2 separate regions of the Homo sapiens genome follow, and region 1 is linked to region 2. The links are contacts of gene promoters, found by promoter capture Hi-C in human tissues and cell types (Jung and others, 2019). All regions are on one chromosome and are shown on one strand. Each heading gives the region's core, a stretch centred on a gene start or on the middle of the fragment in contact. The rest is flanking DNA. Distances are from core to core; before and after follow the strand shown. Region 1 holds the start of GAL (galanin and GMAP prepropeptide). Region 2 holds the start of LOC124902700 (a long non-coding RNA gene).

What was found. The method cuts DNA at HindIII sites, captures the fragments that hold promoters and counts their contacts. A contact is called where the count stands out against the background at its distance.
Region 1: the fragment with the promoter of GAL here is called in contact with a fragment that was not itself captured in region 2 in 3 of the 25 tissues and cell types used here (lymphoblastoid cells, mesendoderm cells and psoas muscle).

What each region holds. Positions count from the first base shown.
Region 1 is chr11:68,682,008-68,686,692 of GRCh38, reverse strand. It overlaps GAL (galanin and GMAP prepropeptide), which reads right to left and starts at 2,149. Exons shown (of 6, transcript NM_015973.5): 1 at 1,961-2,149; 2 at 1,689-1,769; 3 at 1,045-1,099. The coding sequence starts at 1,769. All of the region lies in intron 2 of LOC107984343 (a long non-coding RNA gene), which reads left to right. RefSeq lists enhancers at 1,403-2,078, 2,755-3,430. The HindIII fragment of the contact is 15,033 bases long and covers 1-4,685 here.
Region 2 is chr11:68,850,295-68,855,632 of GRCh38, reverse strand. LOC124902700 (a long non-coding RNA gene) reads right to left here and starts at 2,267. Exons shown (of 3, transcript XR_007062752.1): 1 at 2,234-2,267. RefSeq lists a silencer at 1-43. The HindIII fragment of the contact is 8,710 bases long and covers 1-5,338 here.

The DNA of each region.
Region 1 (4,685 bases), core at 900-3,399, 170 kb after region 2:
ACCAGCAGGCTCTGTGGTGAACAGCCTGGACCGATCCGCACGCGGCCTCAGGCGGCTCTGTCATCCCCGTGTCTGTTTCTTAAAGCCTGACTCTGGGGGTCCTCTGAGTGACCCCGATAAACAAGCGTCTGCAGGAGGAGGAAGCTGTATTCGACTCTGGGACTGAGAACTAAGTCAGCTTTCCTTGGCATGGGGAGAAGAGCACCATTCTCCCCATTTGCTGCTCCGCGGGGCTCAGATAGGCCCTGCGTGCTGTTCACATCCTTCCTCTGGCAGAAGGCAGTACAGGGAGGCTTTTAAGGTGGATGGTGAGGTGTGGAGGGGAAGGTGAGTTACAGGAGGGAACCAAGGCCTCCTCTTGTCCCCTCCTTTGGAGGAAAGTCAGAAGGCATTGCTGCACAGACCAAGGATGTGGAGAAAGTAGAGGCCTGGGACAGGGGCGGGGGCGGACACGGGGAGGTGTCAGCCTGCAGTGTCCCATCTAGGGCTAGGGCTCACCTCAGGCAGCAGGGGACACCGCTGACACAGGTGACAACAACAGGACAGGGAGAGGGAGGGGACACAGGCTTGGGCAGGCAGGGTCACCTGAACCTTGTTTTGAGGGGAGCCTGTCTGGGCTGCCTTCAGGCGATCTGGCAATTCCCGTGTGGAGCTTGGAGAAAGGGAAGAGGGAGGCAGGATTTGGGGTCCGCTGACCTAGGGTGCTCTGCAAGCCGAGGAGTTGAGTGTTTTGGGAGACCCGGGGGCCTGGGGAGAGGCCCAGAACAGGGCCTGTAAGGACTGCAAGGCGGGAAAGCCCAGGAGAACTTGAGCAAAGCCCAGGGTGGGAATCTCACCCCGGGACAGGGCGGCAGAGCCGGGGCAGGAGAAGCTTCTGGAAAGAACCGTACACAGATCAAGTGTGCAGAGCAATGGAGACGGGCAATGAGGTCAAGAGGGAGGCCAGAGGGTCTGCCCAGCCGCAGGCGGAGGGGCAGGAGCCAGGGTTCAAAGCGAGGGGCAGGTGGGGTCAGGAGTGGGGAGGCCATGCTGTCAGTCACTTACGTGGGCCCAGCAGGTAGCCCGCGCTGTTCAGGGTCCAGCCTCGTTTTTCCTTGGCCTTGAAGGGAGAAAAGGGGATCAGATGCCAGGGCTGTGCCTGGAGCCTATGCTGAATGGGTGCACCCAGGCTTTCCCGGCATGGCAGAGGACTTAGAACAATGCATGTGCTTTTGGATAGCTCGCGAAATTCCAGGTTTACCCCTAAGTCGGCTATATTTGACATGAAAATGGAACCACTTTATTTACGAAATACTTCACTTGAGGGCCTGAGCCCGCGCACTCTCAGCGCACTGCACCTGCTTTAGTGACGCTGAGGCCACGCCAGTGGCTCCTAGCCCTCCATTCTAACTAAGCCCTGCGGAACGGGCGAGCTTCTCGCTTTCCCGAGGCGCTGACCCGAAGCGCAGAGCTCTCCCGGCGGCCTGGTTATAGCCCGGGGCTGTTGATACACTCGGAGAAGCGCGCGGGGGGAATCCCAGGGAGCCCCGGACCCTTCCCGCGACGCCCGCAGCCAGGACAGCGCCCGCCTTTCCACTTTCCACCCCCATCCCCGCGGGCAGGGCGGAGGCTGCCTCCTCCAGGAAGCCCTCCACGCCCGGCCGGCTCTGATGTCCCCTTCGCTCGGAGGAGACGCGCCCCGCACTTACCGGCGACCAGAGCCCCGCAGAGGCAGAAAGGGCCGCGGCGAGGAGGAGGGAGGCGAGCAGGAGGGCGCTGCCTCGGGCCATCTGGAAGGGAAGGACAGGGCGGGCGGGTCGGAACCCGGAGTGGGCTGCGCCCCGAGGCAAGGAGTGCCGGGGCTGCGGGGAGGAGCAGAGGCGGCGGCCGGGCCAGGGCCCTGGCAGAACCGTCCCTGGGCAGAGGAAAGCCGAAGGGGAGGCCTCCCGGGGGCGCAGGGTCGGCCCGGCGCCAGTAGTACCTTGAGCTGCGGCTGCGCCCGGGTTCGGAGCGTCGGGGTCCGGGTGCGGTGGCGGGTCTGGGCGGCAGGTCCGGGCGTCGGGCCGGGTCGGGTGGGCTCTGGCGGCCTGGGGCGCTCACCGCATGGCGCGGCCGGCAGCAGGGGCAGAAGGCGCGGGCCGGGTCCCTCCACGTGTCCGCCGCCCGGTGTGGCCGCCGCCACCGCCGCCGCTGCTATATATGCGGCGCACCCGGGAGCCGCCCGGAGTCGCGTCACCGGCTCAGCGCCCGCCTCCTGCACCCTCGCCGAGCCCCGAGGGCGACGGGAGTGACCCGAGCTCGGGTCCTCTGGGCCATCATAGGCGGGTGCGGCGGAGAGCCCCCCCTCATCCCGCGGGAGAGACTCCCCCAAATCTGCAGAGAGAACCCCAAACCCTGTGGGAGAGACCCTAATCCCGAAAGACAGAGCCCAATCGCCCCGCGGGAGAGCCCCCAGACCCGTGGCCCAAGTCATCGCTGTGGCGTCAACCCCACTGCTCCCCCCGGGGTCCCAGCCCCAGAGCAAGCCTGACCCCCCACAACGTCCCACGCCTGCGGTCTCCCTGCAGCTTCTCCTCCCAGCCCCTACCGCTGCAAAAGCCAGCTGAGCTCCGCAGCACTGGAGACCCCAGAGGGTGACGGGCAGGGACGACTCCTCAGTCCGAGCCAGCCCCAGCTGGGAGGTCATGGGGTACCCGGGGAATGGCGGGCAACACTTGGCCCTGCGCCCTGGCCGGCTTGTGCTGGGGCTGGAGCGAAGGTTCAGGCCTCGGGAGCCGTCGATGGCGGGGAGGGCAGGCGTTCCCGGCTCCCTGTGCCCAGCGACCTCCCTCCTGTTTCACTAAAGGGGGGCTGTGGATCTCAGGGTCTGCTTGGCCATCCCATTGTGGGAGCTGCGGGACCGTCGAGCATCCACAGGCACCAGCTCAGAAGCTCGGCCTCTCAGTGCCTCCCCTGGCTGCCTGGTCCAGTTGTAAGAGGGAGCTTTAAGCAGGTCCAGCCATTGGGCAACTGGTTAGGTCCAGAGGGAGAGCAGCCCAGACTCCCAGAGGCCGCCAAGGGGTGGGCGGTGGGCAGAGCAGCAGCAAGAGGCTGTCCTTGTGCCCAAGGCAAAGACATCCCACAGGAACAAGGCCCTCCTTGGCTCCTCCACAAACCCTTCCTGAGCTGGGGCCAAGTCCCGAAACAACCCAGGAGAGAACCCAAGCCTAGGCTGTTCCTTCACCCCATTCCCAGGCATCAGGGGAGCACAGGATCCCAGGCATCACACTTGTACAGTGTGGCACCTCCGGGCTTCCGAAGAGCACGGGGTCATCTGCTGAAAACTCGCCTGACCTCCCCTCCCACTGGCCAGACACCACCCAAGTCCTCAACAGCAGCAGCTGGGTTAGGATCTCCCCACCCACTGGGCTCAATATCAGATGGGTTGATGTCACATCTGTGGGTTGATGTCCACAGGGCACAGGACGAATGATGATCATGACAGTGTCATCTTACCTGTCCTCTACACTTTAGTCTTGGGAACCTTTGCACAGACAGCTACAGGCTGCCCCCAGGAGAGATCCGTCTGCCTCCACGTGGCTGGGGAAGGACAACTGGGCTTTCAAGAACTCTGGCGAAGGCCAGCGGCTGCTGGAGAAGGTGCAGGGCTGCAGCCTGGTGGCTGAGTGTCTGCTGTGGTTTATGGGAGGAAGAGGAGGAGACAGGACTTGGGGAGGGGTCTTAGGAACAGACTCCTGGCACGACAGTGGTGAGGGGTGGGGTGTTCCCAAGGGCACAGTTTGACTTCTGGTCATCCCTATTTCTTGCAGCCTGGGGAGAGGAGAGTCAGGCACAGGGGACCCTAACTAGGACTCACAGGCTGATTTCGGAGCCCACAGTAAACCCTGAAGTGGTTTCCTGCCGGGAGTGGGGGCGTGGGAGACAGTGAGTCGCCATGAGAGTCTGGGCCAGCCGTGGGCAGAAGGACAGCCGAGAGGCGGAGGAGCAGAGGGCACGTTCCTGTGACTCTGCAGAGAAGTGACAATGATGTCCTCTCATGCCCCATGTCCTTGTGTCTAGATGACATCAGGGAGTGGGCAGGGGCTGGGCTCATGGGTGCCTCTTGGCTACCTGAGAAATACTGCAACCTTTGGCCCCCGGTGGTAGTGGGAGCCCTGCTACCATCCCAGAGCTCTTTCTTGCTTTCTGCTGAGAACAAATCCAGCCCAGTGCATAGCACATCTTAGTCAATTCCAGCCTTCTCCTTTCTTCCACGTTAGGCCCCCTTCCAAATCCTGCCAGAGCTTGACTACACTTATTTTCTCTATTTACTTTGTCACAGAGGCTCTTAGTCTGTTTAAAGGAGCACAAACTCTAAACCTAAATCCTTGAGATGGATTCGAAAAGAGACTCAAAGTCCATCCCTTAGTCATGGGCTGGAATTTGAGGTACATTAAACTTTCAGCTGTCTTCATTTGGGCCTATGTACTCTTTTTGTTTCCTTTTTTGCTTTCAAAGAAACTTCAGACTGGGCGCAGTGGCTCACGCTTGTAATCCCAGCATTTTGGGAGGCTGAGGTGAGTAGATAGATCACTTGAGCCCTGGAGTCCAAGACCAGCTGGGGCAACATAGCAAGGCCTCATCTCTACTAAAAATAAATAAATAAATATTTTTTAAAAATCAGCCAAGCATGATGGCACGTGCCTGTAGTCCCAGCTACTCAGCTC
Region 2 (5,338 bases), core at 937-3,436:
AGGCGACCGGGGGTGCTCGCGCAGCGCGCTCGGTCCTCCCTCCGGGTCTCGGGGCTCTGCGCAGCTCCGGGAAGCGCACCGGGCAGCGGGCGGCCATCCCTGCTCCGTCTCTCCCCACCCCCAGTCCCAGCCCGGCGTCGGGCAAAGAGGCAATTTCACACTCTGGAGGGGCGACTGAGGGGTTCACGCCAATGCCCGCTGGTCCCTCCTGCAGTCTAACTTCTTCCACCCGGGCGCAGCCTGGGTCAACCTCCACCTTCAGCTATCGCCCCGGCCGTGGGGGGCCTCTCCTGCCAGCCGCCGCCGACCCAGCTGACTCAGGAGGGTATTCGCGCGCTCACCGAGGACGCCCTCCCCACTCGCCCCTGCGCCTCCTCGTCTGCAAAAGAGGAGCCGAGGATCCCAGCACTTTGGGAAGCCGAGGCGGGCGGATCACGAGGTCAGGAGTTCGAGACCAGCCTGGCCAATATGGTGAAACCCCGTCTCTACTAAAAATACAAACATTAGCCGGGTGTAGTGGCGAGCGTCTGTAATCCCAGCTACTCAGGAGGCTGAGGCAGGAGATTCGCTTGAACCGGGGAGGCAGAGGTTGCAGTGAGCCGAGATCATGCCATTGTGCTCCAGCCTGGGCGACAGAGCGAGACTCCATCATAAATAAATAAACAAACAAACAAATAAATAAATAAATAAAAAGAGGAGCCGAGGGAGAGCCTGGGACGGAACTGGGGCTCTCCATGGGCGCTTAGAGGAGCTGAGGAAGGCGGGGGACACCCGCACGCCCCCTCCCTAGCCTCCGCCAGCTCCTTCCCAGAGGGAAGGACCCGCGGCTGCGCGGGCGCCCTGGAACTAGACTGCGCCCTGGACCCCCAGCCCCTCTGCGGTCCTGCGCGGGCGCCGGGGCCGGCAGGGGAGGGGGCTGCAGCGCCTGGACTGGCCATGGAATTATGTTGCATGAAAAACAAAGAAAGCAGCGCTATTCGGCCGGTCGGCCGCTCCCTCCCCACCTCCCCCGACCCTGGGCCTTAGAGGAGGGTCACTTCCTCCTCCCCACCGGTCCCTACCGCCAGAATACCCCAACTCTTCTTTCCTCCGTCCGAAACCTGTGACTTCAAGGAAACAATTAGCTTCTCCGGCAGCCAATGAGCGCCCAGCCAATTCCCCATTTTTCCAATGCACAAACGTTTTGGGGGGTTGGAGACGCCCAGGACCCCAGAAACAGGACAATCGCAGTTTCGGACTGGAGCGGCGAGGGGGGAGAGACGGGTGGGTCTTAGACAAGGAAGAAGCCTCACTGCAAGCACAGCGGAGGAAGGCATTATGTCTATTTGGGGTAATGGGGGGACGCAAGTGACCTCCGAGTGGACCTTGAAGGCTGAGTGGGAATCTTCCAGAAGGGAAAGGAGACAGCCATTGGGTTATATTTCAGGATCAAGGTCAGCGTGGGAGGTCCGGGCACCCACACCCACCTCCCAGGCAGACTGAAAGTGCTGTACTGTGCGCATCTGTCCTATCATGAATGGACGCATCCAATGTGGTCTGTCCGGACAAACAGAGTACTATTCAGCTATACAAAGGAGTGAAACACCGACCCAGGCTACAACATTGGTGAACCCTGAAGACATGATACTCAGTGAAAAAAGGCAGTCACCAACGACCACATGTTGTAGGATCCCATTCCTATGAAATGTGCAAAATAGGCAAATCCATATGTGAATTTGACAAAAAGTGGACTGGTGGCTGCCCCGGGTGGGGAACATGGGGAGAAAGGCTGCTAATGGGTTGAGTGTTTTGTTTAGGGGAAAATGTTTAGGAAATTAGATTGTGGTGGTGGTTGCACAACCCTGTGTATATACCAAAATCGATTGAATTGTACACTTGAAAACAGTGAACTTTATGGTATGTGAGTCAAATCTCAGTAGATTAAAAAAAAGAGAGCTTAGCAGGGCCAGGCGCAGTGGCTCACACCTGCAATCCCAGCACTTTGGGAGGCCGAGGCGGGTGGATCACCTGAGGTCAGGAGTTCGAGACCAGCTTAGCTAAAATGGCAAAACCTCATCTCCACTAAAAATACACAAATGGCCAGACACAGTGGCTCACACCTGTAATCCCAGCACTTTAGGAGGCCAAGGTGGGTGGATCACCTGAGGTTGGGAGTTCGAGACCAGCCTGACCAACATGGAGAAACCCCTTCTCTACTAAAAATACAAAATTAGCCAGGCATGGTGATACATACCTGTTATCCCAGTTACTCGGGAGGCTGAGGCAGAAGAATCACTTGAACCCGGGAGGCAGAGGTGGCCGTGAGCCAAGATCGCACCATTGCACTCCAGCCTGGGCAACAAGAGCAAAAACTCCATCTCAAAAAACAAAACAAAACAAAACAAAAAAAACAAAACAACAACAAAAATTAGCAGGACGTGGTGGCGCCCACCTGTAATCCAGCTACTTGGGAGGCTGAGGCAGGAGAATCGCTTGAACCCGGGAGGCGGAGTTGCAGTGAGCCGAGATCTCAACACTGCACTCCAGTCTGTGCGACAGAGCAAGAGATCAAGACTTCATCTAAAAAAAAAAAAAAAAGACAGAGAGCTTAGCAGAGTTGCACCTCAGATCCTGCATCGTGGTTCTTATGGCTGCTCCATTTTGCAGCAGAGGAAGCTTCTGCTTGAGCCTTGCAGTGGAGCAAGGCTGCAGCTGCCCTCTGAGAGTGTCTTCTCTGGAGAGCTGACTGGCCCTGCTTTGCCTCCGTCTCCTCTCCTGGCACCTGATCCATGGCTGTGCACAAAAACAAGAAGAAGTGAGTGGAAAGGCACGCTGGGCAGAGGGAACAGCGAGAACAGATGCTCAGAGGCAGGAGGTGGGGTGAGGTTTTCAGTGGAGAGAGCACAGAGCCCAGTGAGGTTTGTGAGCCCAGGTTGGAAAGGTCGTTTGGGCACAGATCTCTAGGAGGTCTTTCCGGCCTGCCTGAGAGGAAGGGCCAGCTTCCGGGAAATGCAACTCGCACAGTCACACAAGGGGAGAACTTAACAGGGCTTCGTGGTTAGTTTCATGCTCTGCAGTCACTGGCTTGAAATTCCTTTCTTGTTTTTTAAAATTTTTTTCAATTTTATGTATTTATTTATTTTGGAGACTGAGTCTCGAGAGCTCTGTCACCCAGGCTGGAGTGCAGTGGTGCGATCATAGCTCACTGCAGCCTCGAACTCCTGGGCTCAAGCTGAAGCCATTCTCTTACCTCAGCCTCTCAAGTAGCTGGGACTACAGGCACACCACCAGGTAATTTTTTATTTTTGGTAGAGACAAGGTCTGGCTTTGTTGCCCAGGCTGGTCTCAAACTCCTGGTTTCAAGCGATCTTCCCACCTCAGCTTGAAATTCTTCATAGTTTTTGATCAAAGGTCTCAGCCTTCATTTCACTTTGCTTGACAAATTTTGAAGCCTGTTCTGCCTGGAGGCCACAGATTGCCTCAAAGATGTTGGGGCACAGAAGGTGACCGCGAAGAAGGGCACACATGGGGACAGTTTAGAGGTTCCTGTGGGAGACATGGAAATGGGGTGAGGGCCTGGAAGGGAAGGGCCAGATGGAGGGGCACCAGGCAGCTAAGCCTGCAGAGCCCCAACCCTCCACCCGTCCATCCCAACCATCACTCAGTCATTCAGCTAACATTTCTGAAACCCAAGTTATGTATCTGGTTCTGGTTTCCAGGGTTTCCAGCCCTAGGGGGCTTATGGTCTATCAAATCTGTAAGCTAGTCCCCACCCACCCCATGCCAGAGCCACACTCTGCCCGACTCCCTGGTTTGTTTTTCTCCTTTGCTTTTTATTTTTTTATTTTTTATTTTTATTTTTATTTTTAGATGGAGTCTTGCTCTTGTCGCCCAGGCTGGAGTGCAATGGCACGATCTCAGCTCACTGCACCCTCCGCCTCCCAGGTTCAAGCGATTCTCCTGCTTCAGGGTCCCGAGTAGTTGGGATTACAGGCACCTGCCATCATGCCTGGCTAATTTTTGTATTTTTAGTAGAGACAGGGGTTTCGCCATGTTGGCCAGGCTGGTCTCGAACTCCTGACCTCGTGGTCCACCCACCTCTGTCTCCCAAAGTATTGGGATTACAGGCTTAAGCCACCGCATCTGGCCTCCTTTGCACTTTTCACATGAATCTGTTTCTTGACCACCTCTCTCACTAGAATTTGTAGCTTGGTTAAAATGCTCTGTTCACTCCCTGAGAGTCCCAGTGTCTAGAATAGTGCTGGCACAAGTATGGGGGCTCAATACATATTTGCAGAATGCATGAATGCATGATCCAATGAGTGAATATGGGTAAGACCAGGGCCAGATTTAGATCTTTCCTCTTTCCAGGACCTACAGACTGGGCAACATGGTGAAATCCTGTCTCTACTAAAAATATAAAACTTAGCCAGGTGTGGCATTCACCTATAGTCCCAGCTACTGGGGAGGCTGAGGCAGGAGGATCACTTGAGCCCAGGAAGTCGAGGCTGCAGGGAACTGAGATTGTGCCACTGCACCACTGCACTCCAGCCTGGGTGACAAAGGGAGACCCTGTCTCAAAAAACAAACAACAAAAAATCGTTCCAGGTCCTAACTGCTAAAAGGATTATGGCAACCTCTTCATATGTAATTTGAAAGGTGTCGACTAAAGAAAAAAAAAATCAAGCTTTTGAAGCTTTAGTTTATTCAGAGATCTTGCTGAGGACTATTGACTGAGGCCTCTAGCCCAGAAGCAGTTCCATCATATTGCTCCGCCACGGTGTTTCAGGTCACACCTTATATACCTGTGGTGGAGGTTCCCTGTGTGCAAAATCACATCAAGCTTTCTCAGAAGTTACATTGACGCAGAATCACATCAGAAGTTGGGTTTGGCTATATTTGGTTATAGATTACAGAGGCATAATCACTAACCTTGTTAAATGTTATTTATTTTTATTTCTTTTGAGACAGAGTTTCGGTCTTATTGCCCAGGCTGGAGTGCAATGGCGTGATCTCGACTCACTGCAACCTCCGCCTCCCGGGTTCAAGCAATTCTCCTGCCTCAGCCTCCCGAGTAGCAGGGATTACAGGCGTTCGCCACCACGCCCGGCTAACTTTGTATTTTTAGTAGAGATAGGGTTTCTCCATGTTGGCCAGGCTGGTCTCCAACTTCCGACCTCAGATGATCGGCTGGCCTCGGCCTCCCAAATTGCTGGGATTACAGGCCTGAGCCACTGCGCCCAGCTGACGTCATCTTATGTGCAGGAAAAGGCAAGAAGTAGGGTCACTTATCGTTTAAGAAATATAGTAACTCAGGCAAGAGGCATGGGGGCCATGGACTCTGTCCTGTTTTGTCTTC